Linked DNA regions of Homo sapiens: regions 1, 2, 3, 4, 5 and 6 are each linked to region 7. Evidence: promoter capture Hi-C in 16 types of primary human blood cells and fetal thymus (Javierre and others, 2016). All regions are on one chromosome and are shown on one strand. The core of a region is centred on a gene start or on the middle of the fragment in contact, and the rest is flanking DNA. Distances in the headings are between cores, read along the strand shown.

Region 1 (2,725 bases), core at 160-2,659, 1.2 Mb before region 7:
TGCATGAACTGTGGAGACACAGCCACCTCCACCTAGATTTTGAAGGATGTGTTGGGGACCCTGGGGGCCCAGTCTGAGAATTGTCACTGAGGTGAGGCTGCTGCAGAAAACCCTCACTAGGGCAATGTTTAGTGGAGCAGTGGGATTGGGGCCACTGCAGAGAGCCCCAAATAGAGTAATATCTAGTGGAGCTGTGGGAACAGGGCTGTCCCTGAGAACCCAGAACTGTCCAGCCACCAGCATGCAAGTCTATCCTGGGAGAGCCTAGACCTCAACCTGTGAGAGCTGCTGCATGGGTTGCACCTGGCAAATCCATGGGAGTGGATCCCCTGGACACTAGGGGACCCAGTCTCCACCCCCCTGTGCTCGGAATGGGGGACACAGCATCAAAGAAGATTATTCTGAAGCCCCAAGATTTAATGCTGTTTGCCTTGTTGGGTTTGGACTTACTTGGGACCAGATACTCCTTTCTTCTTGCCTGCTTCTCCCTTTGGGAATGGGAATGTACGTCCTATGCCTGTCTCATCACTGTATTTTGAAGGCCTGTAACCTATTTGATTTCACGGGCTCATAGCTGGAGGGGAATTTCACTTAGGATGAATTGTACTTTGAATCTTATGCCTTTCTAATTTAGAAGATATTTAGGTGAGACTTTGGACTTACATTTTAAAGTTGATACTGGAACTTTGGAGGCCACTGGGATACAATGCATGCATTTTGCATGTGAGAGGGGTATGAATTTGGAGGGCAGGGGCAGAATGCTATGCTTTGAATGTCTGTGTTCCCTGCAAAATTCATGCTGAAACAATCCTCAATGCAATACTAACAGGTGGTGCCTTTAGGAGGTGACTGGATTATGAGGGCACCTTCCTCATGAATGGGATTGGCCCCTTATACGAGAGACTTCACATGAGATTTGGCCCCTTTTGCCCTTCCACTTTCCACCATTGAGGACGCAGCAGCAAGCTGTCATCTTGGAAACAGAGAGCAGGTGTTTGGAACTGGTTCTGTTTCATCTGATTCTGGGGGCCCCTCTTTTTCCCTGTGCAAGATCCCCAAATTTGCTTCCTTCTCTCAAAGAAAGCTCCCAATATAGATGGGACTCAAAGGGAGTCATTTGCCCTCTAAGAGGTGTCACAATATGTCGTCTCAGTCATTCACACCTTAGTAAGAAAAAGCTTTTCAGGTCCTTGCCAGAGATTCGGGGAAAGGCTTTGAACTGAGAAAGAAGCCGCGCCCCTGAGGAGGGCGCTGCCCGGAAGCCACGCTCACTTCTGCTTGCACTTAGGCGACCTCGGGAGCTCGGACTCCTACGCAGTCACCGGGAAGGGCCGCCGCCCCGCCCGCGGCTGCTGGCCCGGGTGACGCTTCCGCCTGCTATAAGAGCAGCGGCCCTCGGTGCCTCCTTCCTGACCTCGCACCCAGCTCGGAGCCCGGAGCGTGCCTCGGCGGCCTGTCGGGTAAGGCCGGGCCTCGGAGCGGTGGCGCGGGGGCGGGCGCGGGGAGAGGCCAGGCTCCCTCGCTCAGCTTCCAGCCCGGCACCCCCCACCCCCCAGGCTCAGGCCCCTCAGACCCGCAGCTCCCTGCGCTCGCCCTCCCCGCCAGCTTCGCGCCCCCATCCCTTCCGGGCGCCCCGACGGAGACAGACGACCTCTGATCCCCCGCCCCCGCCTGGGTACAGGCCGGGCCAGCCCGCGAGGGAGGGAGGGAGGGAGGACGACAGATGCAGGCGGAAGGCAAGACTGAAACCTGAGATCAGAATGTTGTCCCTTCTCCCTGAATTCCCTTCCTCCCAGAGCTGTTTGTGACGGTTTCCAGGCAGCCCAGGGCCAGGCCGCGGCTCCTATCTGCAGCTGCAGGGAGAGAGAGGAGGAACCCCGTGCGATTCTAGAGACGATTTCACAACAAGGAGAAATCAGCTTTGTGCTTACATGCCGAGCAGCCAGCACGGTTCTTCTTTGCCTGTCCTCGGGGGAAATCAGGGCTCTGAGAGTGGAGATCGAGATGGGCTAGTGGGTGGCGGATGGGACGCTGCACGGCCAGACCCTGGACTGTGGTGGGTTTCCAAACTGGCACATCCTACACCGGCTCTGAGACTGTGGGCACTGGACCTCATACCTTTTGAACCTCAAAAATAAGGAAGAATTATATTATTATAATAATTACAGTGATACCTTTGCTGGAGTTTTAATGCATAGTAGGTAGCTGAGTCTCTGATAGAAGGCTCTTAGTTCAGGTGAAGGTAGGCAATGGATTCATTGCCCAATGAATCAGAGACTTGAATCAAAGGCTCAGAAGCACGTGCGCTCCCACACATAGGTTGGGAAGACCCAGGGCTGGGTGGGCCCTCCCACCCCACTAAAGCTGGGGTAGCTGGGGCCTGCCTTACCCCCGCCCCACCCCCAGACTCACCTGTCTGCAAGGTCAGAGCCCTTTAGGGCACCCTGGGTGCCCTAAAATCCCCTATAACTGCTGAGTCCTTGGCCAGAATGGTCCCACATTTGTGGGCCTGGGAAAGTGTTCTTGCCCTGCTGGAATAAAAAAGCGGGGAGAAAGTACAAGATCCAGGATGCCTCAGGGCGGTTGGCAGAAATTGAGGAAGCTTCTGGAGAAATAGTGCTGCCTAATCTGCTGGCGTGGGCAGTGGGCACCATGAGGACCCTGTTCTGTGTTGCAGTTTTCACCATGGAGCAGCTGAGCTCAGCAAACACCCGCTTCGCCTTGG
Region 2 (2,700 bases), core at 18-2,517, 1.0 Mb before region 7:
TAGAGCAGCCATCACCACAATCAAGATCTGGAACATTTTCATCACCCTAGAAATTTCCTTGAGTCCCTGTGTAGCCGATCCCCTCTCCTGGCCCCAGCCCCTGGCAACTGTTAAGGACCTTTATGCCACTATAGCTTTGCCTTTTCTAGACTTTCATATAAATGGAATCAAGTGATATGTAATGCTGTGTGTTTGACTCCTTCACTGAGCAGAATGGTTTTGAGCTCCATTCATCTGTGGCTTGTGTTAATGCTGTGTTCCTTTCTATTGCTCAGTAGTTTCATTGTATAGATATCCCAGACTTTATTTATTTAGCAGCTGATGGGCCCCTGGGTTCTTTCCAGTTCTTGCTTATTTGAATCATGCTGCCATGAACGTTCGCATTTGAGTCTTTGCATAAACTTAGCAGTCATTTCTCTTGGGTAAATACCCAGATGTGAATTTCTGGGTCATGGTTAAGTACATATGGCCACACAGTTTTCCAAAGTGGTTGTGCCAATTTGCCATGAGTATAGAAGAGTTCCTGTTGCCCCTCCTCCTCATTAACACATGATATACTCAATTTTTTAACTTTAGCCATTCTAGTAGGGGTATAGCGCTATCTCAGTGTGGCTTAATGTTGAGTACCTTTTCATGCACTTACTGTTCAGCTAACATTGTTGTTAAGCAATATCCTGAAATATTCTTTTTTTTATTTTTTTGAGACAAGTCTTGCTCTGTCACCCAGGATGGAGTGCTGTGGCATGATCCTGGCTCCCTGCAGCCTTGACTTGGGATCAAGCAATCCGCTCACCTCAGCCTCCCTAGCAGCTGGGTCTAGAGGCATGCACCACCACACCTGACTAATTTGTGTATTTTTTGTAGAGACGAGGCCATTTCATGTTGCCCAGGCTGGTCTTGAACTCCTGGGCTCAAGCCATCCGCTGGCCTCAGCCTCCCAAAGTGCTGAGATTACAGATATGAGCCACCATGCCCAGCCCTGAAATATTCTTAAGGGATGCACCGACCCTAAGGCCGATGTTATTCCCCTCAATTTGCAGATAAGATCTGAGGCACAGAGTGGCTGCACAATTGCCTTGCATTCCTTTTGGCAGAACTGGGGCTGAAGCTTCCTAGACTGGGCCACATGTTCTCCACTGCTGGGAACAACTGTTCTTAAAGGGCCTTGCAGACATATTAGTAACCTCAAATGGTGACAGACTGGCTGCACATTTTGACATTAATATGTTGTCATAGTTTGACATAAATAGAACTATTCAATATTACTACTTTTTTTCTTTTAAGCTGTGGAGCCTCTAACCATTCCTACCAGACTTAATAAATGGCACTGCCACGTGCTTAATTAGTAAGTGTTGAGAGTTACTTTGCTGTGAAGTATTCCCCTCCACTATCTTGGCCCATGTAGCATTTATAGGAAGGAAGCTTTCCATTTGTCCTCCCTTATCCTGGGAGCACACGGAAAAGGTCCAGGTCACTCAATCCTCCCTCCCCTCTTGGTTGATGGCCAAAATGCTTTCTGCCCTGGTAGAGTTGATCCTTTAACTAGAAACTGTAAGCCCAGTGCGAGTAAATGCCTAACATTGCAAACAGAGATGCTAAAAAGGGAACCTTTGTGACACACGCATCCTGCAGGATGTAGGGACGAGTGAATGGAAGAGAATGGGGTGGGGTGAGGAGTGAGTTCTACCTGCAGGAATGAAATGAAAGACCTGAAGCTGCTGGGCTTCCCAGCCAGCCACTAGGAAACACACTGGAGCCAGAGGTAGGTGAATATTTCTAATCTCCTAGAAAAGGCAATTAGGAGTGTGGGAACCACGGGAAAAGAAATTTCCATCTTTTTTGACTCTCTGTTCTCTCCCACACTTGTCATTCCTACCACCTTGTCTATTTCCTTGTTTTTTTTTTTTTAAGTTCTCTGAAATGAAAAAGTCTTATAGACTTGTTTTTAGGAGAAGTTATAGGAGATGAGCCCTGGGATATAGCTAATTTAGGGGGAAGAGCAGATGGTTTTAAAAAGGCAAAAAGGAAACTAACCTTCTGAGACTTGAAGAAAAGAGGCGATTTATACCACGGTGATTAGGAGAGCAGCCTGCTGTCCTAGTCATGTTTGTGCGTGCGTGTGTGTGTGTGTGTGTGCCTGTCTGTGTGTGTGCATGCATGTGTGCATGGTGTACATGTGGATGCGTGCGTGCACCCTTGTGTGTATGAGTGCAAGCATGTGTGGGGACGTGGGTCTACATCTGTGTGTTTGTGCGTGTGTGTGGTGTGTGCATGTGTATTGATGAGTGTGGAGAGGAGGGGTCATGTGTGAACATTCCAGAAAACATATCACTTTGGTTCTCAGTGGTGATTTACTCTTTGGGGTGAATTAACTACATTCATACATGGAGAGCAGTACTTAACGAGGATGGAGGAGGAAAGTTCATGGGCACTGAGTGTTGAGGAGGAAACCAGATGGCCGGAAAGGCTTCAGAAGACTCTCCTCTCGGTTTTGGCTTTCAGGTCTTTGTGGTTATATTCTGTGCTTTTACTTTAGAACTGCCTAAAATATCACGACTCTCTCAGAAATCCACTAGTCACTGCCCAAAGTCAAAGAATCTTTGCTCCATTATTTTCTTTTAAAATGTTCGTTGCTTTTGTTCCCTATCTGCATGGTTACATTTACCCTGGAGCTCCGTGTACTATGGCCTGCTAGGCGGC
Region 3 (2,700 bases), core at 134-2,633, 1.1 Mb before region 7:
TCACTCCAAGCCAGCAGGCACAAAATTAAAAGAGGGGCTCCCTTGGGGGCAGTAGATTGGGAGGGATATCCTTCTACGTGCCCTGTTGGCTCACATCTTGGCCAGCTGACAGCGCTTCCCCTCCTTGGGTTTGGCCAAGGGAGCACACGCTTGCTTTCAGCCCCTCACCTCCCCAAAGGGCAGCTCCATGGAGGGTGTGAACTACATGCTGCAGGCAGATGGCCTGCGGAACGCTTCCCCAGCACGCTGTTCTTAGCTACCTGTCCATTCATTATTGTCGAACCACTGACATTTTATCTGAAAGACCCCAGATCATGAAGTTTTAAAGGAAGTATAGTGAGTTTTTCAGTAAGGCGATGTGCTTTAGGGAGAAAATCCAGCGTTTGAAGACCGCCAACTGTGTTTCTGTCTGGATGGAGGGAAGAAGTTGCTTTCGGCCCAGTGGCCCAGCTGGGAGGGATTGCTCCAGCCACCCTTCTTGCTTATATAAATGAAAAAAGATCACAGAAGCCACTGCCTTCATATAGGTCCTAACAGGGTTCTTTGTAGGTTGTCAGAAACTTCTCTCCCAATGGTCTTGGTGGGTAAATGCTGAAAAATGCCTCCTTGAGAGAAACAGCATGAGGCCTTCACCCCCTCCCCAGTGAGGTTCAAAGTCACTAAAACACATCTGATCCACTAAAGTCCAGTCTGGAAAGCATCCTGAGAGGCAGAAGAGAAACACTCCTTGAGGGAGCCTGGCCCCCTGCGGCAGGCAGGGTTTAGGGTTGGGGAACTAAGGGAAAAAATACAGGGCCCCTTGGTGAAACTGGAATATCAGATAATGGTGGATCGTGTTTAGTATAAGTTTGTAATAATCAGTACACAAACCAAAGTTATTTGTTGCGTATCTGGAGAGGTGCGAGCTCCTTTGCCACGATCTCTGTGTCCCACAGCCGACCTGCCTTGGCATCCTCGTCTCCTGCCACTTCCTGTTTTACCCCATGTGCTTGCTGGTCCCTGAATTCTCTTCCATCTGTCTTTCCTCATCCTCCTGGCCCCAGTGGCTCCCCAGCCATGCCCAGAGAGGTTGGCACTATAGCTGAGCAATAGAATGGAGTCTTTGAAATTTGCTGCATATCCTGTATTTTTATTTGCATGATAATAGGGGCATGGCCTGTAAGTGGGGCTGGCACATGAAGTGTGTGTCATAACTGTGGCTTTGCAGGAGTGTGAGCTAAAGAGCTGGAACCTTGGGATCCCAAGCGTGAGCACAGTTGGTGGACAGTGAGCCAGGAGGGAGTGGGTATCTCCTTGAACCATGGCATGTGTGTACACATAGCAACCAGCAAAGACTCCATTCTATTGCCAAGCCCTATGATAGCAAAATGGGGAGGTAGCAACAGAAGGCAGAGACACAGAAAGCCAGGATCTGCCATCCACCGTGGAGATTCTCAGCTCTCTTTCCTCTGAGGTCAGCAGCAGAGATAGCTTCTTGGGGTGGGTGTGGATGGAAGAAGAAAGAGATGCCAGGGACCCTGTTATTGGGAGGTGGGTGCTTGACAGATTGGTTTGACAGATCAAGTCAAAGCAGATGTAAATGTGCTTGGTTTCCAGGTTGGTGAAATTTTGGTCACTGTGATAACTAGGACAGAAGGACAGAAGGAAAACACATTCTGTGGCCTCCACGGGCCTCCCAGCTGCAGCCTCAGCTGGAGTGCCAACCTCTCTGGGCATGGCTGGGGAGCCACTGGGGCCAGGAGGATGAGGAAAGACAGATGGAAGAGAATTCAGGGACCAGCAAGCACATGGGGTAAAACAGGAAGTGGCAGGAGATGAGGATGCCAAGGCAGGTCGGCTGCGGGACACAGAGATCCTGGCAAAGGAGCTCCCACCTCTCCAGGGCTGGGCATCATCAGACTGTTTTGTTTTTTTTAATAAAACTCTTCAGACAATACATGATGAGTTAAATAAAAGACACAAAAGTGGTTTCTTCAGAGAGACGGGGACTCAGACCCCTCTCATTCTGTAGAAAACAGTAAGGTTCCCCTGCACTGCCTGTGTCTTACATACGAAAAACACCTAAAGACAAATAAGGAGAAACATATACAAAGTCCTGCAGCAGTATTTGCTGCCCAATGTCTGATGCCATTTGTTGGGACCTTTGTTTTTCAAACTGTGGTACCTGGATCACTTTTAAAAATAGAGATATCAGCTCTGCTACCTACTGCCTCAGTGACCTTGTACTCATTACTTATCCTTTCCGTGCCTCAGTTTAATTGTGTGTAGAATGGGGGAAAATGGAGCCCATACAAGGTTGAGGTGAGCATTAAATAAGGGCTATACCAGGGCTACTGTAAGCCCTAAGTAAATGATAGCATTTTTTTTTTTTTTTTTTTTTGAGACGGAGTCCTGCTCAGTCGCCCAGGCTGGAGCGCAGTGGCGTGATCTCGGCTCACTGCAACCTCTGCCTCCCGGGTTCAAGCGATTCTCCTGCCTCAGCCTCCTGAGTAGTTGGGATTACAGGCATGCGCCACCACACCCAGCTAATTTTTGTCTTTTTAGTAGAAACGGGGTTTTACCACATTGGCCAGGATGGTCTCTATCTCTTGACCTCGTGATCCGCCCACCTCGGCCTCCCAAAGTGCTGGGATTACAGGCGTGAATGATAGCTATTATTAATAATAATGATGATGATGAGATATGAACCGTCTTATTAGT
Region 4 (2,700 bases), core at 188-2,687, 1.4 Mb before region 7:
CTCTGCGCTGAGCTTGGACTTAAAGTGGAAAGGCTTACATTTGCAGAATTAAAAAAAGCATCGAAACATTCTGTGGCAGGAAGTCCTGCGAGCCTCCTCGCCCCAGCCCGGTTTCCCGCGGGCCCCAGCCTCATCCCCCAAGGCCCCACCCTGAGAGCCCCCAGGTCCCAGCCGCGTCCTCCTGGACCCCTCCCAGGCGTGGCGAGCCGGGTCGCGGGAGCGCTCCGCCACCAGGGGACAGTGCGGCGCCGACCGTGGGCTGCTGGCTCGGCCGAGGGCACCCAGGCGCCCTCCGCTGCAGCGGGCTGGTTGCAGAGGGGCGGGCTCTCGCCAGGCAGCAGGCGCTCCGGGCGCAGCTGGGAGGAAGGAACGCCCCCGGGAGTGGGCGGCGGCCGAGGGACCCTGCAACCGTCCTCCCTGGAGGAGGCCCCCGCAGCTCCCGCAGCCCCCCTCATCCCGGACGGGCCGGGGATTGGGACTGGCCTGGGGTCTCCTACTCTCCTACTCCGCGCAGGAAGTAGCCCCTTGGCAGGACCGGCGGTGCCTGCTGCTTTCAGGAGCCCCGAGCCGCTTTTGTCTGGGTGCAGCTCAGCTCACATCCCCGATGCAAGTCTTTCCCGGCTCGTCTCCCCTTCTTCCCGGAGTCCATGCCTTGCTGTCGGTGACTCATCCCACACTGTGCCCTGCGACTCACCCTGTCGCTTTCTCTGTTCATCCGGGAGCGCGGCGCCATCTCCCTCCAGCCCCGCCTCCCCTACAGTGCTCCGTGCTGAGGTCGCACGTTCTCTCCTCCCTCCAGCTCCCTGGCTCTTGGCCCTTCCCAGGCCACCAGGCGACAGCAGCCTCCGCCTTCATTTCCCTTGGTCATTTCAGGCGCATGCTTGGAGGATTTCAGGATCTGACTCAGCTTCCCCGCCATGCATCCCTCCACCAGCATCCAGTCACACCTCTGCAGCCTTCAGTGTCCTGGAAAGGACTGACCAATCTGACCCATTAGAACCTACCCAGACCAATTTGAAGGCCACTGCCCCTCAACCGTGGCCACCCACTCCTGCCCCACCTGGAGCCCCAAACTGCTCAGTTCCTTCTCTAAAACTCTGCCCTCTTTTGTTTGTTGTGAATAACTGTCTTCCCTGGTTCTTTCCACACCTCTCTGGCCTCTCCTTGTCTTTTTCTGGTTCTTTTTTTCTCTATTCTCCCTTATGCACTGGCCTTGCTGGAGGTCCCTGCTCTCCCTGCAAAACCTCACCACACCCTTGACTTCAGCTATATCCATTTCACCTCACGTTGACATCTGGTGCCTAGACCTCTCTCCCGAGCCTTCCACACCATGCCAAAAATGAAATTCATTTTCTCCTCTAAATTTGCTCACCTTCTTGTTTTCCCAATCTTATTTATTGTCACAGCCATTCCCCTGCTGGTCCAAGTCAGTAGTCTGAGAGTCATGCTAGACTCCTCCTTCCTTATCTACCCATCCACCAATCCCCAAGCCCTGTCTATCCTCCTTTTTTTTTTTTTTTTTTTCCAGTCAGAGTCTTGCTGTGTTGCCCAGGCTAGAGTGCAATGGCACGATCTCGGCTCACTGCAATCTTTGCCTCCCGGGTTCAAGTGATTCTCCTGCCTCAGCCTCCTGAGTAGCTGGGATTACAGGCGCATGTCACCACGCCCAGCTAATTTTTGTATTTTTAGCAGAGATGAGGTTTTGCCATGTTGGCCAGGCTGGTCTTGAACTGCTGACCTCGTGATCCGCCTGCCTCTGCCTCCCAAAGTGCTGGGATTACTGGCATGAGCCACTGTGCCTGGTCATCTATCCTCCTTTTTAAATAGCTCTGCCATGTGTGCCTGTCTCCCCTGACAGCTCACCCTCATCCTATTTGTCCACATTGCTGCAGAGTAGTCTCTTCCATACACCAGGAGTTCCCAACCCCCGGGCCACAGACCTGACTGGTCTGTAGCCTGTTAGGAACCAGGACACACAGCAAGAGGTGAGCCACCAGTGGGTGAGCTAGTGAAGCTTTATCTGTATGTGCAGCTGCTCCCCATTGCTTGCATTACCACCAGAGCTCTGCCTCCTATCAGATCAGGCAGCATTAGATTCTTATAGGAGCACAAACCCTACTGTGAACTGCACACATAAGGGATCTAGGATGTGCGCTCCTTATGAGAATCTAATGCCTGATAATCTGCCGTTGTCTTCATCACCCCCACATGGGGCCAGATAGTTGCAGGAAAACAAGCTCAGGGCTCCCACTGAAAATAAAGTGCACAAGAAGTGTCATGTGCTTGAATCATCCCGAAACCATCCTCTGCTGTCCAAGGAAAAATAGTTTTCCACAAAACCCCTCCCTGGTGCCAAAAAGGTTGGGATGGTTGCCATACATAACTCTGATGATGAGACCACGAAGCTCAGAATCCTCCAGAGGCTCTCCACTGCCTGTAAGATGAAATAAAATTTATGGGTGTGACTTATCCATAAGGGCCCAGTCTAAACTGCCTCATATTTAATTATATAGTAAGCTATTTGTTTCCTCAAACGTATATATTTTGGCCCATTTCCCAGTCTCCTAGGTTGGAATATGCTCTGTGTGTCACCTGGCCAGCTCATGCTCTTTCTCATTCTCAGCTCAAGTGTTAGGGACTCTATGACACCTTTCTTGATTCTCCCAGTCAGACATATTGTTGCTACTTTTTCTTAACACT
Region 5 (2,700 bases), core at 136-2,635, 1.0 Mb before region 7:
AAAAAATCCCACATTGTAAGGCTGGGCTCACTCTGTGGCCCAGGCCCAGCCTGACTCCTCTGATGAGTGTTGGCTTAGGGTTTCCACATGAATAGCCAGGGTTGATGGATGAATACATTTACTGTCTGGACTGATAACAACGAACAGATTCCTGGTGGCAAGCACTGGACACAACCCTCACAGGCCTCTAGAGTAACCGCGTTGATTCAGCAACATGGCCATTTGAGTTAATTTTATCAGAATGGCAGTGGCTTTGAGAACTTACTCACACAAACCCACAGTTTGTCATGTTCCCAAGACCACAGCAGGTATGGTCTAAGACCGTCTGTCGAATGAGAAAATTCGTCATTGTCTGTTTCCTGCTCCCTAGTCGTTAGCAATATGCTTTCCTGGACATTTTTGCTTTTCCACATTGGAATGGGAAAAAAATCTGTTAGGAGAGGCACTGAGTATTCACCAAGAGATGGTACTGTGTTTGGAAAATTAGTTGGTTTGTACAGATCACCTGCTTTCTGGTAACTGCTTTTTAAGATAGATAGCTTTGACTATTTTGGTGGGGAAGTTTGCGCTGAAATTCTTACCTTTTTTGTTTGTTTTGCGTAGTGAGAACGCTAATATTCTGTAAATGAGTCTAAGCTACATTTTACTTGATGCGGGCAAGTATTATAGATTCCTTTAAGAGCCTTCATTTTTATCACATGCAAATCACGCAACCCATTTTTCAGTTAGGGTAAAGGAAGCTCTAAGAATAGGCCGAGATCTTCCACTCAACGGGTAAATAGAATTTGGACAAGAGTTTGAAAATATCAGCCATCAGTTTGCTGGGAAGTTTTGGGCAGCCAACTTGGATGGAATTCTCTGAGAAAAGAAAGGATTTTTTTCTGAATCATTTCCTTAGGAGGGAACTAACCACACCAATTTTAGTCTCAAACTTTCTAAGTTATTTCTCAAAGTCTTTGGAGGCTATTCAAACCAGTTCCAAAAGTTTTTATAAAGTCGAAATGGCTCTGAAATCTCCTGTCCAAGTACTGAGACATATGCTAAATGGATAGGGTGTGAGGCAGTTTTCTGAGAGTTTGTTTGGATTTCAGGAAGTGGACAAGATAAGCTGAATGGCCTTTTCCTGCTCTGACTCTTAAAAAAAAAGAAAAAAGAAAAAAAATCTCACCCAAAGATGCTTGAAAGAAACCATGGACATTTCCTAACTTCAAAAGAGTAGAAAATCTGCTAGGAAGAAAAGAAAAATCACTATCATAGGCCCAGGATGTTGCAAAGACGAATCAAAACAGGAATGCAAATCGGGACAGAGCTGGAACAAACATACAAGTCTTGAGGTTGTATTTTTATGTGCTGTTTGTTTTTGTACGAACTTCCCTGTGAAAGAGGACGAAACAGAAACACACCTGTGTGGTCTGAAGGGTTTCCCTTTTCCTTCTGGCCTTGGCTTCTTTTCTTTGCCATTCATGTTCAGGAATAGAGATAATCTCGGCGGTGAGGGATGTGCCATTTTGAAGATTGTCTCAGCGCAGTTTCTTGTTGGGAACATAGATGATTGAGAGCCCGGTGCATTTTTGCTATTTTTAATTAAATGAATGGCAGCATGCTGCTATACTCATTGTATGGCAAACTTCAACATGGGTCGATTTTCCAGGGGGAAAAAGCCACTGCATTTGCTTCCTGGGCAGCTCCAAGGGTGAGTTTTCACTTCTGCAGAAACATGAATGCATCGTGTTCACCTTGTTGGAGGTATTCAATGTCACAGGGCTCTTTGGATCTCCCAGCCCTATGTCTAGGCCCATCTGGCAGGCTTGGGGAGCTGCACTGGGCTCTTCTCTCAGGAACAGGAAAGAAAATTTGGATCCTTCAGTCCTGGGACAGAGACTCAGAGGATCCCAGATTCCCCATTCAACAACAAGCCCTCTCTCAGGCCCTCAAGATGAACACGTGGCCCGTTCTCAGTGCACCATGCTAGAGTAGAAACCTGTGGTCAGGAAACTTGGGATGAAATCCCGCTACTGGGGGAAATCTGCTAACCCCTCTGAACCTCATTTTTCACTTGCATCAAAGGGGATAAAGTGTCCTGCTTCTTGCCTCCGGACTGTGGGCATTGGTGGGATTGGATTGGGTCATGGGGAGCCGTGGGGTGGCACTGGGGAGCTGCATCAGCCACCAGCATCTCTGAGGCCTTTGCTTTCTCTGAGGGAAGGCCCAGTTTGATTTAGGTCCTGAGAATCCCAGAATGGCCATTTCTGGAAAAATAACCAAAAGCCCAGATTTCCCTTTTAATTTTATCGCACACAGGCCAGCACTACGCATAACAAAATATTCCATTTCTCAAAAGGAAGTCTTAGAATATTGGACGAATGCACTGTGTGACTTGACTTCATTCACAAAGCACCCATGTCCCTTGGATCCCTTCCGCTCTCCCTCCCGCCCCCACGCTGCCCTTGTTCTGGGAAATTCAACTCTCCAGGAGTAGCCAGCACAGAGGCCTGAGCCCTCCTAAGGCTGGGCTCCCAGCAACGCTAGTCGTTCACTGTCTGACTTTAAATTCTCTGAGCACTCGTCTGCTCGTCAGTAAAATCCAGAGACGAATCTGCTGTCTAGGGCAGACATGAAATCAATGTAAAGCGCCCGAGCACGGGCGTGTGGCTCTGACCCACGCTCTGCCTCTGTCTCCCTTTTCTGCAGGGAAGTTGC
Region 6 (2,700 bases), core at 168-2,667, 1.1 Mb before region 7:
TATGTGTGGGAGACTCTTAGACTACAGACTGAGTATTGTGAATAACCTAGCCCACTCTCTGTAATAACTTCTTACAATGAAATCTTCACCTACTCTCATTGCCTTAATTACCAGATGTTTATATTCCGACTTCCTCATCTGTCTCTTTGGCACAGATATCTTTCCTAAGCTGCAGATCCATATGTCCATCTGTGTACTAGATGTTTCCACCAGGATCTTCCCATCCCTAAACTAATCTCATCTCCCTGCCCCTTGCCTCACCATCAGTGATCCTCTTAGGGAAGGATGCCCATGGAGCGGCCCCAGCCAGCCCCCGTACATCTTCTTTGCTTCCTTCCTCTCCCTCGAGCCCCCATCTCATGTTTAATTTACCTCCATGTTGTGTACATGATATCCCCTAATTACCTCTGGAAGCTGTCTGTTTCTCTCCATTCCCATGGTGACCGTGGCCTGGGACATGCCTCCCCTGAGTGACTGCAGCCTCCTAACTGGCTTCTCTGCCTCCTTCATGTTGTCTCCATCCAAATAATTGTGGATTATATAATTAACACAGAAACAGATGTGTAATGCCCAAGTAACTTTACTGAACATCTAGGATGTTCAACTGGCAAGATGCATATACAGGCAAGACGCCATGCCAACCTTTGGGCCCACCAGGACCTGTCTGATGTACCTATCAGTTAGGGTGGCTGGTGCCCTGCCCTGGTATAGCATGGGTTTGATACGTTTTTGTTTCTTCCACCTTTGCTCCTCATCCTCTCCATTTCCTGAGGTTTTGGAATGGAACTTTTTCACTGACCAACAAACCTTGGAATGACTATGCCTTAGGTACTCACTTTTTCCACATCCAGTTTTTATTGAAATTAACTTTACTTCTAAATTCAGCATCGGCACTAAGTTTTATTTGTGTCTGAATATACCTTTCCTTGATAATTGGTACTGATGTCAAGTAAAAATAGACTTATTACCTAGTGGGTACCTCACCCAGACTACATAAACTGCTTATTAGGGTTACTAACCTATTTTGAGCCAATTTTCCACCGATGTATTTTTATCCAAGCTTATTGGTGTCCAAATACACTTTGACATGGCAGGATAGTATAGAAACCACAGCAGATAATTAATGACATTGTACAGTTTAAAAAGTGTTTAAGAATATTTTTTAAACCATATAACAACAAGTAAAATCACCTTTTGTATCCATCCATCTGCTGGTACCTGAGGTGAATAGATAGTTCAAGAGTGATGATGGGTTTTTTTTAATGAAAAATAAATTTCATTTTATAAATCTAGTTATTACAGCTATAATTATACAGTATTGTGGAGGTACTCTTCTAACTGCTTTACAAAAAATAACTCACTGACTCCTCATAGCAACGCACAAAATGGGCACATTAGTGTCTGTAGCTGAGAACACTCAGGACAGGGCTGAGCTCTGGAGTCCGGGCAGAGCCTCACTGCTCTGCTCTCCTGCCGGTGATGGGCTGCTGGGTACAGGGGACCTGAGCGATGCTTCCAGAGCCTTTCTTGTACCATACAGTTTTAGTGTTACTGAAAATCAATATTCAAACTTAGTATATCTTACTTTTCAAGGAAATATTGAGACGAAAGTTTTCCAGAAGGCTTATTTTTAGATTAATATTGGTTCTACAAAATCAGAATTTACTTTTAAGTTGAAAATTTAATTCTGATCCAAAACTGTTTACCATTTCAATCTAAATTCTATTTTTGAGTCTTTCGTATATTTTTATTTGTCTCTTTTGCTTCAAGCTTAAAAGCACTTACTATTTTGTAACCACTTGAGTAGCATATTGACTGTCACTAAATTTAAGAAGGATTTTTTTTTCTTAGAAGTTAACATCCGAGAGTTCTCTGCCCTCTGTATTATGCTCAAGGTGACATGCGATGGTTTGCAGCCTTTCTTACGTCCCCAACCCTCTGTGTATAACCTGTTTCCATCAGAAGCAGCTCTCAGCTGGGGTGGGGCAAAGCACTCCCAAATTAGGAATCTACTAGAACTCAGCACCTACTGCAGAATTAGCCAGGGTTCTGGGGCCAGAGGAAGGAACACGACACAAATTTGACATGTTTTCTTTCCCCCAGAGCTAAGAAGCCTCTGACCCTTCCTTCCCATTCTCAGTGTTGTGACCTCGGCTCATGCCCTCTCAGTGAACTAATAAAACAACCCATGAGCTGATATCCAACCTCTACTCACCCTCTTCCCTAATCTATCAAATCATTAGTTCCTTAATTACAGCTCAGACCTTGACTGAAAAAATCTTCACGCGTTTCCCATTGTCCACACTAGACCCAACCCGGTTGCAGTCAGGGCCTGCTCCAGGACACCCCCAGCTCTTCTTTTGAGTCTCGTCTTCACTGCTGCCTCTAGAGCAGCCCACAAGTCAGTACTTGTCTAAGGCCTGTATTAAATGCCCCAGCTTTTCCAATCCTCAAACTGGAGACTCTTTCTCTGTCTTCTTGAATCTCTTTGTGGAATTCACATTACCGTTGTCTACTCAATTTGAAAACTTTTGGAAGAAGCCATTTCTGTGTCTGACTCATCTTTGCAGTCATCGTAGCCCCAGTATCGCAAGTGATAGAGCATTCTTGTGCTATACACGCGTGAGTTTTTGCAAAACATACCTGAGTGTGATGAGGTGCTGAGCTGTTTGGCCCTGACTCTAAGTGAGAAGGAAGGGT
Region 7 (2,700 bases), core at 56-2,555:
CTCGATCTTGGGCACCGCGGCGGCGCTGCCGCTGCCCAGGGCGGCGGCCGGGGACAGGGGCTGGGGCGGCGAGGGGCACGTACCGTTCTCGGTCTTGATGTCCTGGATGCGCACGGGCGGCGGCTGCGGACCGGGCGCGTTGCCGTCGGCCTGCTCCGGCGGCGCGGGCGGGGGCTGGCGGCCGGGCGGGGGCGGCTCCTTGAGGTGCAGCCTGTCCTTCTCCTCCTTGTCCTTCACCGCGTCCTTCTTCTTGAAGCGCCGCCGCCGCCGCAGGAAGCTGCCGTTCTCGAACATGTTGTAGGAGTCCGGGTCCAGCGTCCAGTAGCTGCCCTTGCCCGGCTTCTTGTCGTCGCGCGGCACCTTGACGAAGCACTCGTTGAGCGAGAGGTTGTGGCGGATGCTGTTCTGCCAGCCCTGCTTGTTGTCCCGGTAGAAGGGGAAGCGGTCCATGATGAACTGGTAGATGCCGTTCAGGGTGATCTTCTTGTCCGGGGCGTTCTGGATGGCCATGGTGATGAGCGCGATGTAGCTATAGGGCGGCTTCACCATGTCCTTGGGCTGCGGCTGCGGCGTGTAGGGCCCGTAGGCGCGGGCCATGCCGCCCGGGTACTGCTCGGCGTGCGCAGGGTGCGAGTACACGCTCATGGGGGCCGGCATGGCGGTGTAGCCGCCCCCGGCCGCCGCGGCCGCCGCGCGGTAGTAGCTCTGCTCGCCGCCGAGGTAGGGCACCACTCCCAGGGAGTTGGGGCTGGACACGGAGTAGCGCGCCTGCATGGCCCCCGCTCGCCGCCGCCCCGCGCCGCCCGCCGCCCCCCACCCTCGCTCGGGCCGGGCCGCGCCGCGCCGGCCGCCGAGTCCGAGTCCGGGCCCGGCCGAGCTGGTGCCGGCCCGCTGCGCTGTGCGTCCGGCTGCGCTGCCGCCTCTCCCGGCGCTCGCTGGGGCTGGCTCCTCCGGCGCCTCGGGCTACCTCGGGGCCCGCGCGGCCGCGAGGCGGGGTCGCTGCGAGGGGAGAAGGCCGGGCCCGGCCGCGGCAGACCGCCTTGCAGGAACTCGCGGCGCAGCTTCCAGGCGCAAACGGGGGAAAGCAGACAAAAAGAAAGAACAAGCAGGCGCCCTTCTCGCCACACTGCCTGCGCCTTCCAGGAGACTCTGCCCTGAGCTGCCGGCGAAGGCGGCCAAATAACCAGGGCGGGGGGGGGGGGGGCCGCGCGCCGGCCGCCTGCCCGGGCCCCGCGTCACCTTTTCTCGGTCTCTCGCGCGCCAGCCGCTTAAGGAAGCATTGGGAAAACTTCTGAACTTTTGAGCATCCGTCACCCAGGCGAGGACTTTTTTACGCAGTTACACTTTTTTCCGGGCAGCGGAGCCCCGCCCCGCCAGCGGCGGCAGCCAATGGGAGGTGAGAACCGCCTCCGAATGAGCCGGAGGCCGAGCCCTGCCGGCCCGCTCCCGGAGGCCGGAGGACCGCGGGGCTGACCACACGCGCGCCGGCCGCCCTGGCCCGGGCCCCGGCCCTGCGCCCGCGCCGGCGCCCGGCCCGCCGTCGGTTCGCCCCCCGCAGTCCACCTGCCTGCCGCCGGCGCCCGGCAGACCTCCCACCCCGGGCCCTCCGGACCCACGCCCGCCGTTCGCGCAGACTTCCTGGGTCCTCCCGGGACCCCGTGCAGACCCTTCCTTCGCCCACGGCTCCCGAGTGGCCCTGGCGTCTCCGCCCCGCCTCGTGCTGGCTCGCTCTCATTCCTTCGCCAGCCCCGCCGACGCCAGCGCTGGGGTTGCCCCAGCCTCTCCTCCCCGCCGCCTCTCCCCTCCCGCAGCCCCTTCCCTCCCTTCTCCAACGCCAGTCTCACTCGGGTCACTGACGTCTCCGGCTTTTCTCCACTTGGAGGTTCTCCTGTCCTGAACTCGGCTACAAAGGACATGATTTTGAGGGCTCGGTCACAGCCAGGCCCTGCTCGCGGTGGGGAAGAAGGTTCGTCGCCCATCTGGCCCCCCTCCATGACCCCTCCCCAGCCGAAATGAAGGCAAGGGGTGCGGGGCCCTGCTGGGAGTTTCCGACGGCCGTTCACCCGCGAAGGATGAGCCCGCCCCGCTGCGGGCCGCCCTGCTTCTCGCCCCCCTCCCCGGGGGGCCGGCCCTTGGCGGCCTGAGGGTGCGGGCGGCGAGGGCTGCCGGAGCCCGGCTGCTGCCCCGCGCTCCCCTGCCCGCCCGCGAGGGTCCCACCGGCTCGCCGCGCCGCCGCCCCCTCTGATCCCGTCAGGCCCGTTTCGGCTCAGATGAGGGGTCAGGCTGCGGGCTCGGTGACATTAGCAGGTGTGATGACAAGAAGCAAATAAATATGTCTAAGAGCTTAACGCTTCCCCAGGCCAGTCTCCATCTCCACATGCGCGGGGCTGCCGGCTCGCAGAGACAACGGGTGTGTCTGGGGGAACGTCCAGGGTCGCACCTAGAGGGCGGTTCAAGGATTCTGGGGGGACACGCACGGAAGGGCCCCCGCTCGTTGTGCACACGCCTGAGATTCGCCGTCGCTGGGTGGTTGGAATGGGACAGGAAGAAGAGAAATGAGGGAAAGAAACGAAGGAGCGGGAAAGAGCCAGGCCTCCCTCCCCCGGCACGGCGATTCTGCATTTTAGCGACTTGAGGAGAGACCCTCCCGGAGGCTGAATCCCAAGTCGTTCACTAGAAGCTGGGGGAAGTGGCGAGCTC

What was found. The method cuts DNA at HindIII sites, captures the fragments that hold promoters and counts their contacts. A CHiCAGO score of 5 or more calls a contact.
Region 1: a contact is called between the fragment with the promoter of SERPINB1 here and the fragment with the promoter of FOXC1 in region 7, in 1 of 17 cell types (neutrophils). The highest score is 7.3, in neutrophils.
Region 2: a contact is called between a fragment that was not itself captured here and the fragment with the promoter of FOXC1 in region 7, in 13 of 17 cell types (total CD4 T cells, non-activated CD4 T cells, naive CD4 T cells and 10 more). The highest score is 18.8, in total CD4 T cells.
Region 3: a contact is called between a fragment that was not itself captured here and the fragment with the promoter of FOXC1 in region 7, in 1 of 17 cell types (total B cells). The highest score is 5.0, in total B cells.
Region 4: the fragment with the promoter of LINC01011 here is called in contact with the fragment with the promoter of FOXC1 in region 7 in 1 of 17 cell types (neutrophils); the score reaches 8.4 in neutrophils.
Region 5: a fragment that was not itself captured here is called in contact with the fragment with the promoter of FOXC1 in region 7 in 9 of 17 cell types (naive CD4 T cells, neutrophils, total CD4 T cells and 6 more); the score reaches 15.1 in naive CD4 T cells.
Region 6: a fragment that was not itself captured here is called in contact with the fragment with the promoter of FOXC1 in region 7 in 1 of 17 cell types (M0 macrophages); the score reaches 6.1 in M0 macrophages.

The regions. Positions count from the first base shown.
Region 1 is chr6:2,840,547-2,843,271 of GRCh38, reverse strand. SERPINB1 (serpin family B member 1) reads left to right here and starts at 1,409. Exons shown (of 7, transcript NM_030666.4): 1 at 1,409-1,460; 2 at 2,678-2,725. The coding sequence starts at 2,686. RefSeq lists a silencer at 1,465-1,514. The HindIII fragment of the contact is 1,424 bases long and covers 1,181-2,604 here.
Region 2 is chr6:2,641,021-2,643,720 of GRCh38, reverse strand. No RefSeq gene overlaps it. Among named protein-coding and RNA genes, the nearest start is that of LINC01600, 7.8 kb to the right of the region's middle. The HindIII fragment of the contact is 314 bases long and covers 1,111-1,424 here.
Region 3 is chr6:2,727,627-2,730,326 of GRCh38, reverse strand. All of the region lies in intron 2 of MYLK4 (myosin light chain kinase family member 4), which reads left to right. Among named protein-coding and RNA genes, the nearest start is that of MYLK4, 22 kb to the left of the region's middle. The HindIII fragment of the contact is 6,464 bases long and covers 1-2,700 here.
Region 4 is chr6:2,986,704-2,989,403 of GRCh38, reverse strand. It overlaps LINC01011 (long intergenic non-protein coding RNA 1011), which reads right to left and starts at 1,437. Exons shown (of 3, transcript NR_026856.1): 1 at 1,373-1,437. It overlaps NQO2-AS1 (NQO2 antisense RNA 1), which reads left to right. Exons shown (of 2, transcript NR_186367.1): 2 at 1-68. RefSeq lists a silencer at 73-492 and enhancers at 1-685, 686-1,495. The HindIII fragment of the contact is 2,996 bases long and covers 1-2,016 here.
Region 5 is chr6:2,624,111-2,626,810 of GRCh38, reverse strand. LINC01600 (long intergenic non-protein coding RNA 1600) reads left to right here. Exons shown (of 3, transcript NR_131168.1): 3 at 2,692-2,700. Among named protein-coding and RNA genes, the nearest start is that of LINC02521, 9.0 kb to the left of the region's middle. The HindIII fragment of the contact is 3,963 bases long and covers 1-2,700 here.
Region 6 is chr6:2,671,567-2,674,266 of GRCh38, reverse strand. All of the region lies in intron 11 of MYLK4 (myosin light chain kinase family member 4), which reads left to right. Among named protein-coding and RNA genes, the nearest start is that of LINC01600, 38 kb to the right of the region's middle. The HindIII fragment of the contact is 710 bases long and covers 1,063-1,772 here.
Region 7 is chr6:1,608,520-1,611,219 of GRCh38, reverse strand. It overlaps FOXC1 (forkhead box C1), which reads right to left and starts at 1,305. Exons shown (of 1, transcript NM_001453.3): 1 at 1-1,305. The coding sequence starts at 774. RefSeq lists an enhancer at 448-547 and a silencer at 878-1,497. The HindIII fragment of the contact is 8,300 bases long and covers 1-2,700 here.